Regions from separate parts of the Homo sapiens genome. Here regions 1, 2, 3, 5, 6 and 7 are each linked to region 4. The links are contacts of gene promoters, found by promoter capture Hi-C in blood cells and fetal thymus (Javierre and others, 2016). All regions are on one chromosome and are shown on one strand. Each heading gives the region's core, a stretch centred on a gene start or on the middle of the fragment in contact. The rest is flanking DNA. Distances are from core to core; before and after follow the strand shown.

Evidence for each region. Contacts are between HindIII fragments. The CHiCAGO score rates a contact against its expected background, and 5 or more counts as called.
Region 1: a contact is called between a fragment that was not itself captured here and the fragment with the promoter of DNAJC21 in region 4, in 1 of 17 cell types (neutrophils). The highest score is 5.2, in neutrophils.
Region 2: a contact is called between the fragment with the promoter of RIMOC1 here and the fragment with the promoter of DNAJC21 in region 4, in 3 of 17 cell types (neutrophils, non-activated CD4 T cells and total CD8 T cells). The highest score is 14.7, in neutrophils.
Region 3: a fragment that was not itself captured here is called in contact with the fragment with the promoter of DNAJC21 in region 4 in 1 of 17 cell types (neutrophils); the score reaches 7.6 in neutrophils.
Region 5: a contact is called between a fragment that was not itself captured here and the fragment with the promoter of DNAJC21 in region 4, in 1 of 17 cell types (neutrophils). The highest score is 9.4, in neutrophils.
Region 6: a fragment that was not itself captured here is called in contact with the fragment with the promoter of DNAJC21 in region 4 in 2 of 17 cell types (total CD4 T cells and neutrophils); the score reaches 6.7 in total CD4 T cells.
Region 7: a contact is called between a fragment that was not itself captured here and the fragment with the promoter of DNAJC21 in region 4, in 1 of 17 cell types (neutrophils). The highest score is 5.2, in neutrophils.

What each region holds. Positions count from the first base shown.
Region 1 is chr5:43,009,497-43,013,094 of GRCh38, forward strand. No RefSeq gene overlaps it. Among named protein-coding and RNA genes, the nearest start is that of FLJ32255, 18 kb to the left of the region's middle. RefSeq lists an enhancer at 689-1,189. The HindIII fragment of the contact is 8,923 bases long and covers 1-3,598 here.
Region 2 is chr5:41,902,636-41,905,913 of GRCh38, forward strand. RIMOC1 (RAB7A interacting MON1-CCZ1 complex subunit 1) reads left to right here and starts at 1,709. Exons shown (of 6, transcript NM_175921.6): 1 at 1,709-1,832. The coding sequence starts at 1,733. RefSeq lists enhancers at 1,142-1,281, 1,393-1,939, 1,692-1,811. The HindIII fragment of the contact is 10,560 bases long and covers 1-3,278 here.
Region 3 is chr5:42,987,521-42,991,050 of GRCh38, forward strand. FLJ32255 (a long non-coding RNA gene) reads right to left here. Exons shown (of 2, transcript NR_104643.1): 1 at 3,319-3,530. Among named protein-coding and RNA genes, the nearest start is that of FLJ32255, 4.0 kb to the right of the region's middle. The HindIII fragment of the contact is 4,691 bases long and covers 1-3,530 here.
Region 4 is chr5:34,928,238-34,931,586 of GRCh38, forward strand. It overlaps DNAJC21 (DnaJ heat shock protein family (Hsp40) member C21), which reads left to right and starts at 1,322. Exons shown (of 12, transcript NM_001012339.3): 1 at 1,322-1,679. The coding sequence starts at 1,583. It overlaps LOC124900961 (a long non-coding RNA gene), which reads right to left and starts at 1,444. Exons shown (of 2, transcript XR_007058731.1): 1 at 1,412-1,444; 2 at 1-896. RefSeq lists silencers at 998-1,467, 1,478-1,547, 1,578-1,777 and enhancers at 1,806-2,451, 1,918-2,087. The HindIII fragment of the contact is 5,598 bases long and covers 237-3,349 here.
Region 5 is chr5:43,106,991-43,110,477 of GRCh38, forward strand. No RefSeq gene overlaps it. Among named protein-coding and RNA genes, the nearest start is that of ZNF131, 12 kb to the right of the region's middle. The HindIII fragment of the contact is 2,612 bases long and covers 255-2,866 here.
Region 6 is chr5:41,918,606-41,922,166 of GRCh38, forward strand. RIMOC1 (RAB7A interacting MON1-CCZ1 complex subunit 1) reads left to right here. Exons shown (of 6, transcript NM_175921.6): 6 at 1-3,031. It also overlaps the pseudogene LOC100419715. Among named protein-coding and RNA genes, the nearest start is that of FBXO4, 4.9 kb to the right of the region's middle. The HindIII fragment of the contact is 6,841 bases long and covers 1-3,561 here.
Region 7 is chr5:43,027,509-43,031,046 of GRCh38, forward strand. The region is part of intron 2 of ANXA2R-OT1 (ANXA2R overlapping transcript 1); the gene reads right to left. It overlaps LOC105374748 (a long non-coding RNA gene), which reads left to right. Exons shown (of 3, transcript NR_188279.1): 3 at 1-188. Among named protein-coding and RNA genes, the nearest start is that of ANXA2R, 11 kb to the right of the region's middle. The HindIII fragment of the contact is 1,424 bases long and covers 1,577-3,000 here.

The DNA of each region.
Region 1 (3,598 bases), core at 271-2,770, 8.1 Mb after region 4:
CTCAACTTGCTACGCTAAGAAATAGCTAAACCCTGACTTGGTCAGACTAAGAAATCGGGAGTTTGAGAGCAGCCCGGGCAACATGGCGAAACCCCGTCTCTACAAAAAATTCTGGGTGTGGCGATGGGGAGCCTGTAATCCCAGCTGCTGGAAAGACTGAGGCGGGAGAATTACTGGAGGTTGCAGTGAGCCGAGATCGCACCACTGCACTCCAGCCTGGGAGACAAAAATGGACAAACAAACCAACAAACAAAGTTAACATTCTGAATAGGTTTATCAACATAAAGACACTGCTAGCTAACATTGGCTAGCCTCTCTAGATCTGCTAGAGATGTTTGCCTTTCTAGATCTGCTTACCATGCTTCAGTCACCTCTATGTTGCAAGAAGTAACCTGCATGGACTGCACTGGAGAGCTACTTTTGCTCCCAGGATTCTGATTGAGTTTAGGCACTGAAAGACACCAGCTGTTCAGAGATATGGAGTAGACCTTGCTTTGTTCCCCCTGGGCCTCAGTATATTGAATTATTTTACCTGAAGTCAAAATTAGGCTGCACTGCGGCTCCAACAGTTCCAGCAGACACAGGGAGGGCAGCACTGAAAGGGCAACACTTCGTCCTGGACATCTCAAAGTCCAGCCCCCGGTGATCCCGGCAGCCATCCGCCAGACCCTCTGAGGCCACATCTGCCTCACTTCTCAACTGAGCCATCTTCCCAGCATAAACAGCCGCTGCTTCCTCCTCCTCCGCCCTCTCCTCACATCCCCTGTGAATCTGAAGCCTGCAGGCAGGAAAAAGCAGCCCTTTTTCCCTCCAACATCCCCACCCTCACCTCTCAGGAGTAGAGTGTGCTTAGTGCGCCCCCAGCCCTGTCAGTTCTTCCGACTCTTATTCCAACTCGGGAGCCCTCCCAGGCGCCTATCCTAACTGGACCTTAGGGACCTTGAGTCTACTGAAGCCAGGAAGCCCACCCCTTGAAAACCTCCGGTGACTTCACAAGGATACCCAGCCCCTAGTCGGGCAAGAGACCATTCTCTGGGGAAAGAAAATTCTGTGGTGGCTTGTAGGTTCCTCTTTCTTTTCTCTGACCTCTTTTCTCAGTTCTGCTCATTTCACTCCTCTAGTGGGAAGACCTCAACCCTCCTCTCCCTTCCTCTACCCACTGTCAAGGTACACACACACACACACACACACACACACACACACACACAGACACATCCACCTGGGGCTGCTCGACGTTTTCCTCCTCTGTCTTCCCTGGAGTCTTCCCTTGTCTTTCCTGTGCAGCAGAAGGTGGATGGTGATTCTCATCCACCTTCAATGCCCTATACTCCCCACACGGAGGAGACACATTGGTGAAATAGGATTGATTTTTGTCCCCTGGTGGACCAGCAGATGTCCTGGTTTCTGCCTCACACACCAAAGGAAGTGCTTGACTGCTTTTTTCAGCTTGGGTTAACCTGCTGATCCATCAGCATAGCTTGTTACAGATATAATCCAGGTTATGTACGTGTGCTGGAGACAGCCACATGCCACCCTGGAAGTCCCTCACGGCTCTTCCTGGTCTTCTTTTCTCAGCCAGGAGATAGAGGAAAAGCGTCAGTGGGGCTGGGAAATCAATGACTGCCTGAGTTTCCTAACTTCCACATCACTTCTGGAGCCATGCCAGTTAGGGATCTCACCAGTCCTTTAATGTGCCCTGGGGGAGACCATTGTAATAGCACTTGAAATCCCAGAGACAGCAAGGGTCCCACTGAAAGCACCTGGCACAGTATTCTCTGGTAGAATTTGGAATCCAGTTTTCCATTGACTGTTGTCAATTTTGAAACCCAAAGAAATCAGCACATGTGCTGCTGCTCTTCTGGGAGGTCCAGCAGACACAGGGTCAAATTCTGTAAAATAGTTGATGAGATTTATTGTGAACCAAATGTGAGTGACCATTAGCCCATGAAACAGCCATCAGGAGATCCTGAGAACATGTGCTTCAGGTGGTCAGTGCACAACTTGGTTTATATATATTTTAGGAAGTCATGAGATCAATACATTTAAGGTGTTGTACATTGGTTCAGTCCAGAAAGGCAGTACAACTGGAAGCATGATCTTTCAAGTTGGAGAGGTTCAAAAATTTTATGATTGGCAATTTGTTGCAATAACTATTATCTCTAGAAAGGAATGCCTGGGTTGCCATAAGGTGTTCCAGAGACAAAGGTGTCGCAGATGAAGCCTCCAGGTGGAAGACTTCAGAGAGATAGATTGTAAATGTTTCTAACCAGACTTAAAGAGTCTGTTCTATCAATAATTTTAAAAGAGAGGAGAATATAATGAGGCATGTCTGACTCCCCCTTCCCAGCATGGCTTGAAACTACTTTTTCAGTCTAACTTTGGAATGCCCTTGGCGGAGAAGAGGGGTCCATTCAGATGTTGGTGGCAGGGGGCTTCAAATTTTATTTTTGGTTTACAATAGCAATGAAGTAATAACCACATTCAAGTTTAGTAAATGAGTGAGCCCTCATCTACTATGGTTATGTTTGTGTCCTGGTCTGAAAACCAATTTTTTTTTTTTATTGTTTTCTGGAATTATTCCTGGACATGAGGACTCTACCTGTCAGAGTTCAGTTAGGAAAAGAAACCAAAGCAGCCCACACCGTGAGAGCCAAGCTAATGTGCTGCCATCCCACTGCCAAGCCATAACCAGAATGACTGTTCATCTTTTTATTGCCTCATGTCCCACTAAGCCTGCCTACCATTGTGACCCTGTTGGTAAGGCAAATTTAGAAATGGAGGTTTTAGGAGTCCAGGCCCACAACTCAAGGGAGGAAACAAAAAGGCATAAATGTGCCTAACCACGAAGAATAAACACAGTAAAATAATAACTAAATGTGTTTTAAAAGCTAAATTTTAAAGATGTTTTTTTGGGTGGGGGAGATGGAGTCTTGCTCTGTTGCCCAGGCTGGGGTGCAGTGGCGGGATCTCAGCTCACTGCAACCTCCGCCTCCCAGGTTCACACCTTTCTCCTGCCTCAGCCTCCCAAGTAGCTGGGACTACAGGCGCCCGCCAACATGCCCGGCTAATTTTTTTGCATTTTTAATAGAGATGGGGTTTCACCGTGTTGGCCAGGATGGTCTCGATCTCCTGACCTTGTGATCTGCTCGCCTCGGCCTCCCAAAGTGCTGGGATTACAGGCGTGAGCCACCGCGCCCAGCCTTTTTTTTTTTTTTTTTTTTTTGAGACAGAGTTTTGCTCTTGTTGCCCAAGCTGGACTGCAGTGGCGCAATTTTGGCTCACGGCAATCGCTGCCTCCCGATTCAAGCGATTCTCCTGCCTGAGCCTCCCGAGTAACTGGGATTACAGGCATGCGCCACCATGCCTGGCTAATTCAGTAGAGATGGGGTCTCATCATGTTGGTCAGGCTGGTCTTGAACTCCTGACCTCAGGTGATCTGCCTGCCTCGGCCTCCCAAAGTGCTGGGATAACAAATGACTTCTTTTAACACAAAAACCCAATGTACTATCACTGTACTAACTACAAGATTAGACAACAAAAAAACCATTTTATTACATGACACTATGCCATAGGCAATGAGTTCCTCTAATTGAGCACA
Region 2 (3,278 bases), core at 459-2,958, 7.0 Mb after region 4:
TAAAACACTTCTGCAGAGATAATTTGTAGATCCACAGTCAAAATATTTCAGCTGTGCCTTTGTCTGTTGCCCACATGTCCAGGTAATTCTTTTAAGTAGTTTAAGAATGGTAAATTACACATTTTCTAGGAGACTGAAAATTCCTAATCAAAGGTTAATTATTTTTTGAAAATTATTTTTTGAAAAGTTTAGTAAAATCTTCTGAAGGCTTCATTTAGTTCTACATCTTGTAGAAGATTCAGAAGGCATCAGGTGTAACCTTCTGCTCTTTTCTCTATCCATTGCTGGCTCCCTACTTTCATTTTGAATTTATCCCTATTTCCCTATTTTTCCCCCTTTGTGTACAGATACGATCATTCTCCACCCTACCTTCCAGCACTTGCCCCTCTTCAACTACCACCTTCTCCATCCCTTGTTGAGAAAGCCTTCTCTCAACTTCTTGTTTATACTTAGATTCTTTTTTTCCTCACCTACAATTCCCACACTATTGAATAATTGTCTACTCCCACAGACCACATCATATCCCCTTGCCATCTTGCTTGTTGACAAGAGTGCATATGTGCCAGGCACTGTATGAGGCACCAAGGACACAAAATACATGATTCCTGTCCTCTATATTTAGGGTGAATTGTCAGAAGAAACTGGTATTACAAAGGTCAGTTAGAGAGTCATTGTGGTCAATCACTTATAAATCACAATACACTTTTTCTCTATTTTTAGTATTTTTCTATTACATATAAAAAACTACCTTCCATGAGAAACAATAGGATGGAGATTATTCAAGATATAGTGTGTCAAACTGAGAAATGAATACACAGAGTTAACGATTTGTTTGACCAGAGGCAAGAAAGCATTCACAGAATGCAAAGTGAAGTTAGACTTGCTGACTGAGTGCTTTGAAACTCCCGATTGAGAGGATGAACCTCATGCACAATTAGCGCCTTAAGGGAAGGTCTTGAGATGAAAGAAAAATGAAAATAGTTTTGTGGCCGCAGAATTTACTACCACTGGACGCAAGATGTCTAAAGTACTTTAAATGTGAACTCCAAGGGAGGTCAGAGATAAATTCGACTGCTAAAAATCAGATTTACAAAAGCAATATTCAACCATGTAGACTGGCAACTCCACTAGTGTTTGGAGCTCCCCATCCAGATGTACAACAAACTCTTGGAGACTTGGATGTGTTACACAGGGGGCCGGTCGGGTTTCCATTTAGGACCAGGAGATTATAATCACTTTATTTTAGCAACCTCCTTACTACAAGGCCAAAACTGACAGTCCTCTCTCCAGACCCTCGCGTCCGCCCTCCAGACTGTGCTTCCCGCGCCGGACAGGGAAGTGGGAGTGCGGACGACAATCCGCATCCTGCCAGCCAGACGTCACCAAGCTGTCTTCCAAGAGGCAGGCGGAGAGAGCTGACTTCCGATTGGGTCAGCCGAGGGGCACGGCTGGCTCCCTATTGGCTTACAGGAGGGGGCTAGAGAGAGGCGTGTCTCAACGTCACACCCGCCCCTAGTCTCCTTGCTGCTCAGGATTATGGGAGGGAAGGGAAGTCCAGGAGGGAAAAATGACCCGGAAAGACCTTTGCCGGCCTGGGCCAGCCCTCTTCCGGAGCTGATGTCTCCTCCCACCAACCAGGAGAGGTCCGCCCTAGGCCCCGCCCGTGCCGGGGGATCAGGTGATTGCGGGCCAACACGGTCACGTGACCGGGGCGCACCCGCCGATTGTGGCCATGGCGGCCGCAGTCTCTAGTGTGGTGAGACGAGTGGAAGAGCTCGGGGATCTGGCTCAGGCCCACATACAGCAACTTAGCGAAGCTGCCGGTGAAGATGGTGAGGGAGCGGAGGAGAGGGAGGCGGGCGGGGCAGACGGCGCTAAGGTACTGGCGCTCGATGGCTGTGAGGGCTAGAGGCTGAGGCCTGTGTTCCTTTGGGTCCCAGGCCGCAGGTGGTTACCCGAGGTCTGTCGCTTCTGAGCCCCTCTGCGCCATCGATTGCCCACTTCCCAGAACTCACAATGCCAAGGCGTTGTCTTCGAAAACCGCATTATTCAGAACCCATGGAAAATCTGTCTAGATCCGTGCTGGTGTAAACTGTCTCGGTAGCGATTGGAAGAAGGGCAGAATCTAAATAAAATACAGAAGTTTAAATAAATGGCTAAGATGAATGATAACACTCAAATTAGTTATGGTGGTTTGCATCCTGTAAAGATAAAAAGACATGTATAACAGTTCCACTTTTTCATTGCTGCGTTGTAATTTGCGTTTTACGTTTTGGATTCAAAACAACATTCTATAGAAGAGCTTTACATTGGTGTGTAGACTATTCTGCCCCATACATCATGCCAGTTCTCACAAGGGCTCTGTTAAGTATTGGCATACTTGTTTTGGAAAGGTCTAAGCTGTTAGGAAAAACTGGGCTAGGGAATTGCCTCAACCTTCTGAATTTAAGTCCAATTCTTTTCATTACGTCTCAGCTGCCTTTAGGTTCTACATTATTCCTTTTTGAGTTTGAGCAATTACTACAGATAGTTTTTAAAATTCTGTGGACTGACTCATATCATCGGACTCATAGGAAAACAGTGGTGGAACATTTTCTTAAGCGATTGAATAGTTGGTGAATTTGTTATTAAATAGGGTCTATGATGAAATGCCTTAGTTTCAGTGAATATTTTTTGCCAGATTATCATTTATCAGGAGTGTTTTGTTTTGTTTTGTTTTTAGAGGCAGAGTATCATTCTGTTGCTCAGGCTGGAGCCCCTCTAGTAGTGGGACAACAGGCGCACACCATCTCGCCCGGCTAACTTTGGCATATTTTGTAGAAACGGGGTTCACCATGTCATCCAGGTTGGTCCTGAACTCCTGGGCTCAAGCATTCCACCCGCTTTGGCTTCCCAAAGTGCTGGGATTACAGGCGTGAGCCACTGTGCCAGGCCAGGAGTGTGTTCTTTAAAGACCTACAGACCACCCTGAAGCCGACTTATATTTTGGTCTGTGGATTCACATGAATAATTCTTGGGTAGTAGGAGCTATTAACTTGAAAGTTATCTATGTTACCTCTAATTCCAGATTCACTTGAACCAGTCCAAAGAGACCAAAGAATGTTTTTTATTCACTTATCACTGAACTAAAAAGCCATTCTCATTTCCCTTGGAAGAGTTCTTTAATCTGGAATGAATCAGAGCTGGAAATAAAAGTCATGTGCTATATATGGAATTCTTGTTTGAAGGCTTTATACTTCTGAAAATTTACTAAAATAAAATGACAATGTTAGTGGTCC
Region 3 (3,530 bases), core at 129-2,628, 8.1 Mb after region 4:
CTCCCGTTTCTTTTTAAATTCTTTCAGATAAAGCATTTTACAAGAAAGTGAGTCTCCTCTAACATGATATTTGGAGGAGAAGAGCCATCTGATCTCTCATGGCTACGATGGTTTATTCCCAGTTGGGTAGGACACACATTATTAGGAGGGCTCATTTTTAGCAGGTTGTGAAGTCTCACATCCTATGAAGAGAAAATATGGGTAGGAAAGGAGAAAAACAGCGACAAACAAACCAAAAAAGATAATTCTGGAAAATCAATATGGGCCATAATACTTTGAAGTCCATACATCAGCAGGCAGGTATGAGAGTGGTTTATGTATGTACATAGGTTGTTCTTATTTACTTCTGAAGTTTAAGTTGTCTAGCTTCATTTTGCAGGGCTTTAAGAAAGCACAGTTTAGTTTTCAGTGATTTAAAATTAGGAAAAAATGGGTAAGGGAAAGGAAAAGAAAGAAGAAAATAATTGAAAACATCATTTTGGAGACTTTTAGCCAGAAAAAAATTTTGGAATTCAGTCCAAACTGTAGAAAATAATAAAAATTAAATAACATTAGGCAAGACTAGAATCTAACAGCATGTATACTATAGTTGTTGAAACATAATTTTTCTCTCTCCAGTTTCCCATTTTTACTAAAGAGAAATCATGGTAGGACCTATTCGCTTTATTATACTTGGTCTGATTATTTGTATAAAGTGCCGCAAGAACAATTATTTTTCACACAAGCCTTTTTAAATGACTTTGATGGAACTCTATTCCATAGAAAAAGTCTCAGATAAGACTTTTTAAAAGCCGAGCCCGGCCATGGCTTTGTACCATCGAATACATATGAGTTGGGTAAATTCCCCTCCTCTAGAGGTCCCAAGATCACTTGGGGCTCCTGGGCTTGTCAAAAAGTGACATTCTTTACTTACCACAAATCAGAAACCCTGTATAGGGTCTGTGTAGACAAGGTTTGGGGCCTGTTTTCCCAAGGAGCTTTTATTGGCTCTGTAACTCAAGTTTGACTCCTTAAAGAAAAGCACACCATTTCAGTCAAAGCCTTGGTAAAATAACCAGTTTCTCCAATGGTGTTCTGTTGCAAAAGAAAACATTCTTATTGCACTTATGCAAATAACTACATTGACATAAGTTAAGAATATTCACAAATAGTTTCCAAATTCTGGAGAAATCAGGTAAAGAGAAAGAAATATGCTCCAAATTTTGTTCACTGGAGTATACTTTACTGAATTGTTAAAAGCTGTCAATAGCTCAAAAGTAAAGTTTCCTTGACTCAGGAAAACATAAAAAAGGATCAGCAATTTTTTAAGGATCAGCAATTTTTTAGCAAAAAAGTCAACAATATCATTTCAGTCTTCTATTTGTTCGGTCCATGCAATTAACTCCTGTTTGATATTCACGAATACTTCAGCTCTCCATGAGAGTCCTAAAAGTTTACTCCTCTATTCCACTTTAAAAAAAAAAAAATGTTCCCAAGCAGACTCATGTCACATTTTTCTTTATTCTAATGTCACAATCTCCAGAGTAATTAGAAACCTGCATTCAAAAACACCTATCAAAATCCAATAGCTAATTATAAACGACCTTTTGAAGAGGACTGAAAATAAGACAATTGTCTGTGGATGACAAAGTCTTAGGACAGGGTTTTATAATCTATCAAACATTTGTGGAGAGTGTTTTACAAAAAAAAAAAAAAAAACAAACAAAAACCTTTGAGCTACACAGTGAATGTAAAGCTGAGGCTAGACAGGAATGGGATAGGGTGAATCTTCAGTCCCAGAGATCAACAGCCAATGGTTCATTTTTTGTAGGTTAACCTGACCTGGTGGAGTCCTCCATTGGTACCAAGCACAGTTCTTCACTTTCAACTCTAGATGACTTACCCCGGGGCACTTTTACCTTTTGCTTTCTGTCTAGCCTCCTACACAGTCTTTCTTTTACCTACTCTACTAGACTAAGTGATTATAACTGTTATCATCTTTTCTGAGCCTATAATCAAAAGTCAGTATCTGACAAAGAAGCAGATTGTTAAATCCAAGAATTTCTCTGTATCAGGAAAGTATTAATATGGATTCCTGCCTCCTCATTCATTAGTTGCACAGCTTCCTGCAACATAACAACTGGCCAGAAGATTCACCTGTGCAAATTGCCTGAGTGTTGGAGACTGCTTTTATTTGATCTCTCCCACCATCCACCCCGTTTTTGTTTTGTGTCACTTTCATTTGGTTAATAATATTCTAACAATATTTATCATTATAGTTATCTTGATTTGATGCAATTTTTCTTAATGAGATTGATAAAAATATTAGTCTTTCTTAATTCTTTATTATTTATTGTTTTGGATAACACACTGGAAAGGGAAATAGGAAAGGCTCTACATCGTTTGTCATATGTGCTCCACAATTTGCCCTCAAGTTTGATTCCTAGGTCCTACCACCCACACAAAACTGCCATCACCAGCCTGCTCCAATTCTACCCAATTACTAGCCATTGTCATAATTCAAAGTTCCTATGACCTCCTCCAAAGGAGCACAATTTTGTATTTGATCACTTTCTGACCTCCCTGGAATCTACCCCACCTCCAATCACACTAGGATTAGAATCTAAATTCTGCAGCTACCTTGATATCAGTCTCTGTAGGGAAGCAGCCTGCAGCCTCCTATGGACTCCCATCAAGACAGGTTACCTTTTCCCGCTACAGGGTGTTGCTCACAGATTTTTTTTACTAAGATGGGAAGCTGGAGTAGAAATGGGAACAGAGGGCCGGGCACGGTGGCTCACACCTGTAATCCCAGCACTTTGGGAGGCCAAGGCGAGCAGATCACGAGGTAAAGAGATCGGGACCATCCTGGTCAACATGGTGAAACCCCGTCTCTACTAAAAATACAAAAATCAGCTGGGCGTTGTGGCACGCTCCTGTAGCCCCAGCTACTCAGGAGGCTGAGGCAGGAGAATCCTTGAACACGGGAGGCAGAGGTTGCACTGAGCCGAGATCGCGCCACTGCACTCGAGCCTGGTGACAGAGCAAGACTCTGTCTCAAAAGAAAAAAAAAAGAAATAGGAAGAGAGAACTGATGGTAGGTATTTTGCTTTGCAATGACTCCAGACTGCTCTTCTATTTCATAGTGTCTGTAACTATGTGGGTGAGAACAGTGTAGTTTTTCCTTTATTCTTGCAACCACAGGACCAGGAGGCAATTGGAGGAGCCTCAAATAGCAGGGAAGGTTTTGGCTAGCTGAAGAAGGGGTATGGTGGGAGGGAGATATTGAGGCAAATCCCTTGGGAGACAGAATTGCAAGGGCAAAATAGATTTCCTTACCTGGCAGTGCCTTCTCTGCCTTTGTCCTGCCATCGCTTCTGCCTAGGATCCCCCAGAAAAGGATAGTACTGGTTTGCACAGGAGCAGAAGTGGTGAAAATGGGAAATGATGAGTGTGGATGGAGATGCTCATGGCAGGGTCTGTAGGTCTCTTTGAGGGGGCTCAACTCACAAAGTGCAGATTTTTATTGAAATATGAATGCTTGTAGAAAG
Region 4 (3,349 bases), core at 72-2,571:
CCCTTTCCGTTTTTTTTTTTTTTTTTGTCCCTCCCTTCCCCCCGCCCACCATCCCAATTCTGTTCTCAGGAGGGGAAAGGTTTCATTCTCCCCCAAACTCAGACTTCTCAATCCTTATCCATTACCAATTTACCAACTAACTGAGACTGTGTAGAATCTTCCTCTGGAAAAAAGGGAAGTGTATGAATTCTGAGTAGTGAGTTGGTTGGTCAGTGGCGTGTGAAGTAACCTGATGAAGCTTAGCGTGGGTTTTTTATTTTACTGGGGGCAGCATATTGGGGAAGAGAAGGATAACCTTACTAAACCGCTTGGGTACGCCAACCCTGTGCAATAGATATTAGCAACATAGCTAACCATACATGGTTAGTAAATACAACCCACACCTAACTGATGCATGTAAACATTCCACATTACAGTGAAATATATTGGTGTATTAATGCATTTTAATAATTATGGTATTATTTTGATACCTTTCAAAGTGTTTGGAATAATTGTGCAGATAGTCAGATCAACCAAAACCTACCAGTTAAATACTATCCTTTAACTGCTTTCTTAACCTAAACCAATCTTGGAAAGGTAGGATTAGAGGCCAGAAAGTTAGGATTAAAGTGTGTTGGATGGATAGATCAGCACAATTTCATCCATGTTGGTGGTAAGGCTTTTCATTAAGTGTGTTGATGCTTCCCTTTTAAATTGTTTCCGCTTAAATAATCTAACTGTCCTTTCTCAAGCATATTGGTCAAGATGATCAATACCAGATATCTTAAGTGGCAGCTGAAGAGAATTAAAGAGATTAAAAAAAAAACCTGATATTCAGTCCAACCGAATTCTGCTACTGTATTAGCTGAGGAGGCTTGAGCCAACCACTTGACCACTTGGAGTCTGAATCGCCTTATCTATAAAAACGGGGATCCATTGAGAAATTATAATCAGATATTTTCCAGAATCCTCTCCCATCCCAGCTCCTATCTCCCCCTTCAGCCCTCAGGTCGGCTGCCACTCACACTGACCGCCATCTGTGCCCCTCACAATGACACCAGCGTGGCCCTGCCTCCCTTCCGCGCGGCCCCGCCTCTCGCCCCGCCGAGGCCCCGCCTCTCACACCAAGGTCCCGCCTTCCTCCTGTTCTTCCCGGCCAAGGCCTACCTTCCTCCCACGCGGCCCGCCTCTTTCCCCGCCAAGCTCCCGCCTTTCTCCTGCGCGGCCCGCCTCTCTCCTCGCCAAGGCCCCGCCTTCCTTCCTCGGGGCCTCGCCTCTCACCCCGCCGAGGCCCCACCCCCTCCCGCGCGGCCCTTTCCGGCACAGAGCCCACCCCTAGCCCATGCGAAGCGGCGGCCGCCGGCACCGCCCCCGCCGCGCTCCCGCTTGCCGCAGCCTGCGTCGTCTGCCGCCACCGCGCGCCTTCACTGACCTACACCACCGCCGCCGCCGCCGCCGCCGCCGGGCTCGCTGGCTGGCCCGGTGCGGGCGGCGGACTCCCGCCGGAGAGGACTGCCAGCGCCGCCGCCGCCGCCGCTTCGGCCCGGGCCCGGGCCCCGACCCCGTCCCGGGCCCCAGCGCCGGCCGCCCGCCCGGTCGGGCGATGAAGTGTCACTATGAGGCGCTGGGGGTGCGGCGCGACGCCAGCGAGGAGGAGCTCAAGAAGGCCTATCGGAAGCTGGCCCTGAAATGGCACCCGGGTAAGTACCTGTCCCGCAGCCCCCGCGGCCACTCGGAGAAGCCCGGCCCTCCCCGACCTTCCCTTCCCCCGGGCGGACTCCGCGGAGCCAGCAGAGAGGGACCTGGCGGCCTAGGAGCTCCTTGCCCCGCCCGGCCAGTGCCCGGAGCCGCCCTGCCCGTCTCGGTGGGCGAAGCGCTCTGCCCTGGCGCACCCCGGCTCACACCCCATCTCCTCATACCCGCGACCCCGGCCCCGCATCGCCACTGTAGGGGGAAAACTGCAGTCCAACAACCTCACTTGCTCCCGCTACCGGGTCGCAGACACCACGAGGGAGCAGTCGGGAACTCGGAACTCAGACCTGCCCCAGGCTTGCTTTTCCCTGCGTCCCTTGCAGCGCAGCCTCTCGGTGTTTTTCCTCCGCTGCCCTCCACCTCGTCCGGGAATCCCAGATACTTCAACCTGATGTATGGCTCTTTTCGTTTCTTAGTTAAGAAGTTAAGACACGGGAGCTAGTAAAATATCTTTTCAATAGGGATGCGCTTTTTTCGCTGTTTTTTTTTTCTTTTAATAAGCTGTTTAAGCAGACCTTGTACTTCACTTTGGACATGATTCTGCCGGGGAAGGTTTTAATCAGGCGGCTTCCCCAGTAAAGTTTGTATGTTTACTTAGAAGTATCCTTCCTTTGGATGTTTCATTGGTCTGTAATCCAGGCCTGTGTGACTTTTATGAAGTAATCTGATCTTCCAGGCTGGGAAACTAAGAGAGTAGTTGACTTTCAGCTTTTTGAGGTTCATATGAAGAGGCTTTCATATTAGCATTCATCAGTAAACACGGTTACAGAGTATCCAATATATGCAAGTCACTGCACTCTACTAAGTAGATTTGGAAATGCTGAGACAGGGGTCTTAGAGTCTTGTTAGGAAAACAACTTTCTGCCTTACACAAATGAAAAGTTAAATACAACTGCCAGAAAAAAATCGCAACATACATAATTGGTGGTTAGATTAATGGAACAACTAATATATGCTCCAGGAATTCAGGGAGGGAGTTACCATTTTGTATTGAGTCTTCCCCTTCTCAGAGGAGTTTGGACTGGATCGTAGAGGAATGCAATTTGGAAAAGTGAACTCAACAGTATGGAGGATAGCATGGTGGAGGACAAAAGATGTTCCGGGGGACAGTTTGACTGAAGGTGGTGTGTATTGCAGGTCTGAAAAATAGGGATTATGAGAGGAGTGGAAGGAAAGGTCAGGGACCCAAAGTCAAAAGGGAATGGCTATGGTGATGGAGTGAGAGATAGAGGTGTGGGTCTGTTACTTAAAGTTATGCTTACCAACAGAGGCGTGAAAAAATGTGATTATAAATATATTAGAAGAGCAGAAGTAAATGAACTGATGTTCATCATAGCAGTAAGTCAGAAGATACAGCCAAAATTAATAAATGTAAAAATAGTGTAGAAGTATATTCTTAGAGTTTGGGTTAGTGTAGAAGCATATTCTTAGGAGTTTGGGTTGTTACTGTTAGAAATCAAGTTAGGAATTAGAAGGAAGTTCGGAATTCCTTGACTTTCTAGGTGGGAAAGGGTAAATGAAGTAGCGAATGCTGTGACCAAAAGCGTATGTAATTTTCTGAAGAGTGATTTTAAATCAGATTGTATTTCTTGAGTACAAGAGTAGTTTGAAATCAGAT
Region 5 (3,487 bases), core at 311-2,810, 8.2 Mb after region 4:
AGCCAGGATGGTCTCAATCTTCTTACCTCGTGATCCGACCGCCTCGGCCTCCGAAAGTGCTGGGATTATAGGCCTGAGCCACTGCGCCTGGCCGATTTCTTGATTTTTTAATATACCAGGAACCTCTAAAATGAAAGTGGCCCTGATGACCTCTAGGAGACCACAGAGAAGATATAGTCTCAGTTTCCTCAAAAAAATTCTAATCTAGGGGAGAGAGACACATTAATAGGCCACTTTAGTACCGTGTAAGAGGAAGCTTTCTTAAGCCCTATGCATGAATCCTTTAAGACAAACCAATACCAACAATTTGCCAAAAACATGTCCTAAACTGCACTGCTCAGTGCTGAGAGAAAGCATGCTGAATTTTTAAAAATATTTTTTTTAGTCAGAGCTATGAGAGTGCTGAATTTTATCATTCTATGTATTCTTTATTTTTCAATTAATTCCATGTCCTATTCTGCTATTCTTATTTTTTCAATAAAGATTCTAAATGTGTTGATACAGCTACCTTGTCTGTTTTTATGTAACTAATGTCATCTTATTAAGTGATATTATTAGTAATCTCTATTTCAGGAAAACACAAGTTATTTGATTACAAGTATATTCAAATCAAGGGTCTGCACTAAAACCATCCACATCTTCTCCCTATCACAGGTTATCAGTACAACCCTCAATGTCTCTATCTTCACCACTATAATGTTATTTTTTGGCCAGGACTCTGTTCGCTTGGCCCTCAAAGAAAACAACAGGAGCTTAAAAGATTCAGAAGAACCCAATGAACATATAAAAGTGTTACCTTCATCACTAAAAATAATGCTCTGGACTCTAAAGTTTACACACAAGGGGTGATGAGGGAGGGAGCCTGACTAAACTCATGCTTTCTCACTATTGCTCCCTGGTTTTCTCCTAGCCTTTTGAAACTCATTGATCACTATCACTATCAAGCTAGCCATGAGCATGGGCACTGATTCCCTTTTAACTCTGTCTGACCCAACTAAGGACAAAACATTGATTACCAACTTACACAAAAATGGAATATTTAAAGGAGTCTTTAGTGATAACATCTCAGAAATGAACAATGAGAATAAATCCAAACAATCTTTTTTTTTTTTTTTTGAGAAGAGTTTTGCTCGTTGCCCAGGCTGGAGTGCAATGGCGAGATCTCAGCTCACCACAACCTCAGCCTCCCGGGTTCAAGCGATTCTCCTGCCTCAGCCTCCCAAGTAGCTGGGATTATAGCATGCACCATCATGCCTGGCTAATATTGTATTTTTAGTAGAGACAGGGTTTCTCCATGTTGATCAGGCTGGTCTCGAACTACTGACCTCAAGTAATATGCCCGCCTTGGCCTCCCAAAGTGCTGGGATTACAGGTGTGAGCCACCGCGCCCAGCTCCAAACAATCTTAATAAAAAGGAGGACTCAGATGTGGGTTAAAAGCCTAAGGTGCTACACCCTAGGAATAAAGGAGAACTGGTAATAAACTAGTTCTCAAAAGGAAGTAAGTTAATCTTCGAATTATCTCCCTTTCTTTTTTTTTTTTTTTTTTTTGAGACAGTTTCGCTCTGTCGCCTAGGCTGGAGTGCAGTGGCACAATCTTGGCTCACTGCAACCTCCACCTCCTGAGATCAAGCGATTCTCCTGCCTCAGTCTCCCGAGAAGCTGGGATTACAGACATGTGTCACCACGCCCGGCTAATTTTTGTATTTTTAGTAGAGACAGGGTTTCACCATGTTGGCCAGGCTGGTCTCGAACTCCTGACCTTGTGATCCGTCTGCCTCAGCCTCCCAAAGTGCAGGGATTACAGGCGTGAGCCACTGTGCCCAGCCGAATTATCTCCATTTCTAAAATTGAATTAAGGTTATCCCAATTGCCAATACCCCTAGCTGCCAACCAAAAGCAAAATTCTTCTATAGAGAAAGATAAAATTATTGCAGGCCTCAAAGTGTTTGTAAAAAATTTCCCATACAGTATCCAGCATTCAATTTTAAGAAAATGAAAGGCAATAGAACATGAAGAAACACTGAGAGAAGCAACAACGAAACAGTCTCTAGATACCGAGACACAGACTGTAAAATACCATTCAATATGAATAAGAAAATAAAAGACAAGATTGAGAAACTCATAGAAAATTAGAAATGATAATAAAGAAGCAAAAATAACTAAAACATAAAGCAGCCATGGCCAGGCACGGTGGCTCACGCCTGTAATCCCAGCACTTTCGGAGGCCGAGGCAGGTGAATCACTTGAGGTCAGGAGTTTGAGACCAGCCTGGCCAACAGGTGAAACCCCGTCTCTACTAAAAATACAAAAATTAGCCGGGTGTGGTTGTGGGCTCATGTAATCCCAGCTACTCGGGAGGCTGAGGCAGCAGAATTGCTTGAACCTCGGAGGCAGAGGCTGCAGTGAGCTGTGATTGCGTCACTGCACTCCAGCATGGGTGACAAAGTGAGACTCTGCCTCAAAATAATAATAAATGAAACATATAGCAACCAAATCAATAACTCAATGAGTTTAACAGAAGATTAGCACAGCTGAAGAGAATTAGTGAACTGGAAGAAAAATCAGAAGAAAATGTCCATGAGGAAACAAGGAGAAAAGACAAGAGATGGGAAATACAGAACAGATGGGAAAAGACACAGAGTGTACAACAAGAAAACCTAATAAACGGGTATTTGGAATCTCAATAGGAGGTTGAGAATTGAGCAGCAGCAACATAAAAAATATTGTGCCACATCCTTCTGTCCTCTGTGGTTTCTGATCAGAGGTTTGCTGTCATTTGAATTGTTTTTCTCTGTAGGCGAGGTTTTGGGTTTTGTTTCTTTTTCTGACTGCTTTCAATAATTTTTTTGCCTTTAATTTTTATAAGCTTAATTATGTTTCTTGGTGTCGATTTATTTCAGTTTATACTTTCTAGGGTTTGGTCAGCATCTTGAATCTGTACCAAATCTTACCACATTTGGGATGTTTTCAGCCATTATTTCCTCAAGTACTTTCTCAGCCTCACTCTTTCTCCTCTCCTTCAGGGTTTCTGAGAACACAAATGTTAAATCTTCTATTACAGCCCCACAGATTCCTGATGCTCTACTTATTTTTTTCCCCCGTCAATTTTTTCTCTGCTCTTTAAATTGGGTTGTTTTGATTCTTTTGTTTTCCACTTCACTGATTCTCTGTATTCTCTAGTATGCCGGTCAGCTCATCCACTGAACTTTTAATTTCAGTTATTGAATTTTCAGTTATAAAATTTCAATTTGCTTCTTCTTTATATTGTCTATTACTTTACTGAGGTTTAAAAAAATTGTTTCGGCCAGGCACAGTAACTCATGCTTGTAATCCCAGCAGTTTGGGAGGCCAAGGCGGGCAGATCACGAGGTCAGGAGATCGAGACTATCCTGGTTAACATGGTGAAACCCATCTCTGCTAAAAATACAAAAACAAAATTAGCCGGGCGTGGTGGCGGACGCCTGTAGTCCCAGCTACTCGGGAGG
Region 6 (3,561 bases), core at 540-3,039, 7.0 Mb after region 4:
TCCTTCAAAGTAGAATCACTACAAGTGTCTCACTTCAGCCTTAGAAAAGCCCTCAATGTAAACCTTATGTTTGTTACTAGGGTGGCCTCTCTCCCATTTCCCGCTGTGGCTGAGCCAAACTTCATTACTTTCCTTAGGCCCTCTGCCCCTCCCCTAGCATATGGCTCTTTCTCCTATTGAACAGAAAATTGAGACTATGAAGAGGTCAACTTGTATTTACCAACTTTACTCATTTTCCCATTTTAGAGGAAAAGAGGTTGCCTGCTTCCTATCAAAGGCGACTCTGTGCTACATGTTGGTTTCATCTTCGCTGTCTCTCTCATTTCCCCACAAAGTGTTGTCTCACTTTCTGCCTACCTTTTAGGTATTGATCTTCACTATATTTTTTTCTCTCTCTCTCTTTTTTTTTTTTACTTTACATATTTTATACAATGTCATTCATAACTATGGCTTCTTTTACCACCTGTAATAACAGACTGAGTCTCAAACCTGTAACTTGTATCCTGACTTATCTCTTGCTTTCTAAACCTTGTTTCTAACTGTCTATCAAATATCTTCATTAGACATCCCACAGTAATTTTAAGCTCAGTGTTTCCAAACGTCAAGTCCTCATCTGTTATATAAAATCCTTTCTGCTTTGTAAGTTTTCTCTTTTTGGGATTTTCCGCAGATCAGGGCAACACAGAATGACTACCTTCCCAGCCATGTCTCTGCAGTCATCCTGTGTAATCATGTTCTAGTCCAGTGTTGCTCAAACAGTTAAAATCCAGGCTGCTTTTGGTAAACATACAAATTCTGATATAGAGCCTCTGTGGCAAAGGGAATTTCTCAGTTCCTGCCCCAGCCCCCTTGTTTATCATTACACAGCTAAGATTTTTATTTAACTTAGCATTTTAGCAAGTTTTCTTATGAAAATACCTTTGTGCTTTCTAAGTATAAAGATTTAAATTATTTTTAATACGGTTTTTAGAACCACAGACTATCCCTCTTTTTAGAGCATCCTGATCAATTGCAAGTACTTCCACTTCTTCCCTAAATGCGCTTTGTGTGTTTTCCACCTCAGTAGCCTTGCACACATCATTACTTCTGCATCCTTCTTTGTGACCAAGTGAATACCTACCTACCTCTTAGGACTCAGCTTCAGTGATTCTGTTTTCATAGGCTTTTTAAAGCCCTTTTCAGTCAAATTAGATGCTCCTTTGTTCTGGTCCTTTACTCTTCCCCTCCCATGTTGTCGCACTGATCACACTGCTTTGTAATTATTTTCTTTATTGTTGGTAAACTCCATATTTTAAAAATTTACCTGTATACATAGTGCTTAATGCATGGTAGGCCCTTAGTAATGTTTTTGAATTAATGAGGCATGATTCTAAATGCCAAACTTTGCACAAAAAGTTGTTGCTATTGGATTCCAAACTGCTATGCCCTCTATACCAGTGGCTGACAAGGCATATAGGGATATATGCCATCCTGAGAGGAGTAAAGTGTTTAGATTCTGAACCTGAGAAAAGAGAACTTTCTCTTAAGAAGTTGGAAACTTCATTTTACCTTCGTGACCCTGGTAGACCACTTGGTCTCACTGGTTGGTACAATTATGAGGGTAGTACTGGGTGCTTTTTATACAACTTTCCATCCCCCACACAGTTGGAGAATAATTTGTAGACCATGGCAGTTAAAATGCTTTTTACTCTGGTGTATTATAGAATAATGAACACATTTTTATATATGTTAAAGCCTGCTAAATCATTCACTTAGAATGAAGTAACCTCAAGGTACCAAATACCCCACATAAGGAAAGTACTACACTAAATTCACTCAACTATTGTATGCCTACCATATGCCAGATTTTATCCTAGACCCTGAGGATATAGCTTTTTAAAACCCCCTCCTGTTTCAGAGCTTATATTCTAGTGGAGGAAGTTAGACAAGCATTTTAAGTAATAAATGTATAGAGAGTGTCAAGTGATGAGTACCATGAAGAAGAATAAATGAGGGTAAGGGGCTAGTGTGATAGGGAGAGGGGTGGGATGCCATCATATTTAGGGGTGGTTGGGAACTGTCTACTGCTTTAGCATTTGTGTCTTCAAATTTCTCTCCTTTGGTTATATACCTTGCGTATTCCGCACATTGATAAAGTTTCTTTCTTACAGAAGTTCTGATATTGAATTAAGGAATGGGTCACTACTTAAGACTTTATCATTTCAGCTACACATAAAAGGTTTCTCTCCCCTATGGATTTTGCTAATGGTTGAGTGATACCTAAAGGCCTTGTTGCATTTTTTACACTTGGGGTTTCTCTTCGGTTTGAATTCTCTCATGGTTACCAAAACTCTGTTAAAGGACTTTTCACAGTCGTTAAATGTGTATGGCTCTTTCCCAATATGAATTTTTTTGATGTTAACTAGGCTTTTAGACTTAGTTAAAGACCTGTGTGCTCTGCTGCATTTATAGGGTTTTGGGCTGCTGAGAATAATTGATGCTGATTAAGGTGCAAATCATGACTAAAGACTTTTCTTTCTTCTTTTGCATATAGTAGAGTGAGGTGAGGGTCGTGGCTAAAACCCCACAATAACTTTACATTCCTAGCTTTACAGTCTTGCTGTGAATTCTCTGGTGTTCATTAAAGTGTGAGCTGTGTTAAAAGGCATTCTTAGATTCATTTTAACCACATTTTTAAAAACTCACAGTTGGTTAACATGATGGTTTCAGATTGCTTGCCTCTTTTCTCTTTCTACCTTACAGGGCTCCTTTTCTAGCTTAAATAAGGGTACTCCATCTGCCACAGAATCCAGGATTCTATAGTTTTTTAGTTTCACTTCCCTATGTTCTTTTTTTTTTTTTAATTTTTAACAATGAGATGATACCATGTTACAGCGGTATTACATTAAGATACATTTAATATAGCCACAATTAAAGTATGTATTATGTATTTATGCTGGTGTTCTTTCATGTTATTTCTTCTAGTGAAAATTTCCAAGTAAACTGTTATTGAGCATATACATTTTTAAAAAAATAAAACCATACACCCCTACTTGTTGCTTGTTTTATATTTGGCTGTTGCATCAGAATTAAAACTTTTATCATCTCAGTTTACTATTTTAACTTCTGAATGTTATTTCTTCTGGTCCTAATAACTTTTAAAGATGGGGTAATATAGTGGTTAGGATTCTGAGCTCTGGAGCCAGAAGGCCTGAGTTTAATCATAGCCCTGCCATTTATAATACTAACTGTGTGACTCTCTTTAAGTTATTTAATCTTCCTGTGCTGCCTTATCTTATTTTTAAGGCAGTAATAGTACCTACCTCAAGGATATTGAAGATAAATAAGTTAATATTCAGAGTGCTTTAGTTCAGTGTGTAGTATATAAGAGCACAAGAGAATTAGCTATTTCTAGACTGTTTCCCTTAATGTCTAGTTCTGTATATAGGCATACCTCATTTAGCATGCTGACTCATTAGCCAGACAATTGAATGACAAACTTGTTGGCCAGGAAAGCACTGCCTTTTCCTTAGTTCAAGTCATGCCGGTCTTTCTAGGTGGGAAGCAGACTTCAGAGAAGAA
Region 7 (3,538 bases), core at 1,039-3,538, 8.1 Mb after region 4:
AAAAATTAGCTGGATGTGTTGGTGTCTGCTTGTAGTCCCAGCCACACAGGAGGCTGAGGCAACATAATTGTTTGAGCCCAGGAGTTCAAGGCTGAAGTGAGCTGTGATGATACCACTGCATTCTAGCCTGAGCTACAGAGTGAAACCTTGCCTCCAAAATAAAAATAAACGTTTGTTACAGCCATGGACAAAGAGAAAGCAATTAATGGCTTTCAGTGAACTAAATGGGAGGTATCTAGACTAAAAAAATCTTGTAGTCTTCTGCCCAAGATGGCCTGCTGGCCTCTAGGCAAAAATGATACATGATTAGATAAAGGTGGAAGTTTTGATTTAGTTTTGATTGAATTGTTAAACTACTGATGATACAGTGCCCACGTATATGATATTGACTCCATAAATTATCAGGTTGGCCAAAGATGTAGCAAAGGCATTTGTAAGAAAGCTGTAACTGATAACGCTTGATGGTATATTTCTACATTTTCTTCCTAAGTTTATCAGATTAGTTGACCCCTATATCAGCTGAGTTCTTTATTCTCTAAGTTATGACACGCTAATTCTTGGAGGATGTAACATAATATAAATAACATGTAAAAGCAAAATACTATACGCAGTCATTTAACCCATTTCCCATTTGTCCTGAGAATACTTGCAAGTGGGGCTTGCAGCTGCAGCATTTACCCTCAGATCACTTGCAGATTTCTTTTTTTTCAGATAATATTATAATTGCAGTATGTGTAAATCAACATTCCCTGAGAAAGTATCACCTGCCTTAACAGTTTTTGTCTGGGGAAGTTGAAAAGAAATAGTACATTCCTTTGCACATGTTGGAGGGAGAAGTATGTCTGCATAAGAGTCTGGACAGCAGGTCTCTGCCTGTGTGACATGGGTCTCCTTTGGGAATGGTCACTACTCTGTGTGTTATACCCATGCAGAGCACTGCCAACTCTCTACAATGCAAGGTTCCATCCACTGTTCACATCTGGAGAGACACATCCAGGCTACATACTCAAAGAAATGCTAAAGAGGCCGGCCGCGGTGGCTCACGCCTGTAATCCCAGCACTTTGGGAGGCCGAGGCAGGCGGATCACGAGGTCAGGAGATCGAGACCATCCTGGCTAACACGGTGAAACCCCGTCTCTACTAAAAATACAGAAAATTAGCCGGGTGTAGTGGCGGGTGCCTGTAGTCCCAGCTACTTGGGAGGCTAAGGCAGGAGAATGGCATGAACCCGGGAGGCGGAGCTTGCAGTGAGCCACGATCGCGCCACTGCACTCCAGCCTGGGCAACAGAGGGAGACTCCGTCTCAAAAAAAAAAAAAAAAAAATGCTAAAGCTAGTTTTCTGGGATCACCACTGGTACTTCTCGAGTAATACTGGCATGTAGGAGTTGCTCCTGCTCTCAGGATTCATTCTCCAGACACCTAGAGTCCATAAACCTTTCACCTAACAAGAGCTTTCAATCTTCTGCCTTCTGTATCTATTCTGTCATTCTCATTCTGTTTCATTTTTTTCACTTCCTGTTGTATAGTTGCATATTTTCCTTTTTTCTAGTAAAAAGAAGCATGGCTTTGAAGGGAAGCTTCAATTCAGACCTTTTCTTTCTGGTCTTCAAATCAGCTCCTGGAATAAACACAGAGTTAGCTGTGTTCTGAATGATCTCCTGACAGAGTCTTTATTCTCTCATTAGTAAGAGTTGTGAAAACTGCAGCCAACTCCTCATCTTTGTATTTGTGGCTCCCTTTATAGCCCCTGGAACACAGAAGGATATCAAAACATGCTTGCTAAATGTTGGGATCAATCAGATTTTACCATAGTAAACAATAATGTTTAATTAGGTAATTCTATAATTGTATCCATTGATGCTTTCCAAATAGCATGTTTAACTCAGACAAATTCCAGTTTCACAGAGGATATGAGAAGGAAAAAAAATCCACAGCAAGAATACAACAAAGAAGGATTCATTTTACATTCGTTCTGATTAAGAATATCTTTCAGTTTATGATAAAATCAACGATAATATTGTTAAAAACTGACCTAATTACTTTCAACCAGATACTGTCCAAACATTAACTTTTTCCATCAAAAGTATCCCTGATAGTTACTTTGTAAAATGAAAGCACATTTGGCTTCCATTTCTGAGGTGGTTAAAATAAAGGCTACCGGGTTGGATAACTTACAGAGGTTCACACATCTAGAATGGCATGTAACCTCTCTGTAACCGAGCCAGTGGGGCCTGAAACTTCTTGCTATTACACACAAGCAGAAGTGTTGAAATCTTTTTTCTTTCTTTCTTTTTTTAGATGGCATTTTGCTCTTGTTGCCCAGGCTGGAGTGCAATGTGGTGATCTCAGCTCACCGCAACCTCGGCCTCCCAGGTTCAAGCAATTCTCCTGCCTCAGCCTCCCGAGTAGCTGGGATTACAGGCATGTGCCACCATGCCCAGCTAATTTTGTATTTTTAGTAAAGACGGGGTTTCTCCATGTTGCTCAGGCTGGTCTCGAACTCCTAACCTCAGGTGATCCTCCCTCCTTGGCCTCCAAAAGTGCTGAGATTACAGACGTGAGCCACCGTGCCCAGCCTAAATCTTTTTTCTTTTTGTTTTTTGAGACAGGGTCTCACTCCGCTGCTCAGGCTAGAGTACAGTAAGCTGAATCTCGGCTCACTGCAGCCTCAACTTCCCAAGCTCAGGTGGCTCTCCGGCTCAGTCTTTCAAGTAGCTGGGACTATAGGCATGCACCACCTTGCCCAGTTGATTGTTGTATTTTTTTCGCCATGTTACCCAGGATAGTCTTAAACTCCTGGGCTTAAGTGATCCGCCTGCCTCACCTCATAAAGTGCTGGGATTACAGCTCTGAGCCACTGCACCTGGCCAAAATCTTTTTAATACAGCAATTCAGCAGAAGACAAAACTGGGAGAGTGAAAGACCACATTAACAATTGGGCAACTATGCTTACCCAGCTCCTCAGTAACACCCCATATCTGCTTTATACATTAACCCCAAGCTTTTCTCCTGGTAGAAAGGATTCTAGTCTCTGCTCTAGGACTAGCAATGTGATTTGGGGGCAATAATGAACTTTCTAAAGCCAGGCACCATAAAAACAGCTTTTCCTCCACAGACATGGTAGTACTTTTTCCTTTCATCTGCAAAACCAATCTGTCCTAATCTAGATAATTTCACCCCAGACGGTAGGATTTTATGTTAGTATCATTAATTCTATCTCCTAAGGAAATTTGCTTCTAAGACTGAAGTTATCATCCAGTTTCTTGTTATCTGGTTAGAACCACCCAAGAGAGCAGAAGAGTATAGAAACACAAATGCTGGAGATTTCTAAGTTCCAGATACTCTGTCACCAATTGTGAGATGGATGCCATGAAGCAGCACTTTCCTCCTGGGGTGCAGCAGGGGCAGGACTTTCCTCTGGGGTGCATCAGGCCTGGGATTCAACAGACTAGGCACCAGGACTCCAGAGGCCACCAACCCTGAGCCCAGGGGATTGTGTGCCCTGTCAGCTCCATTGTATATTATTGCACACATACA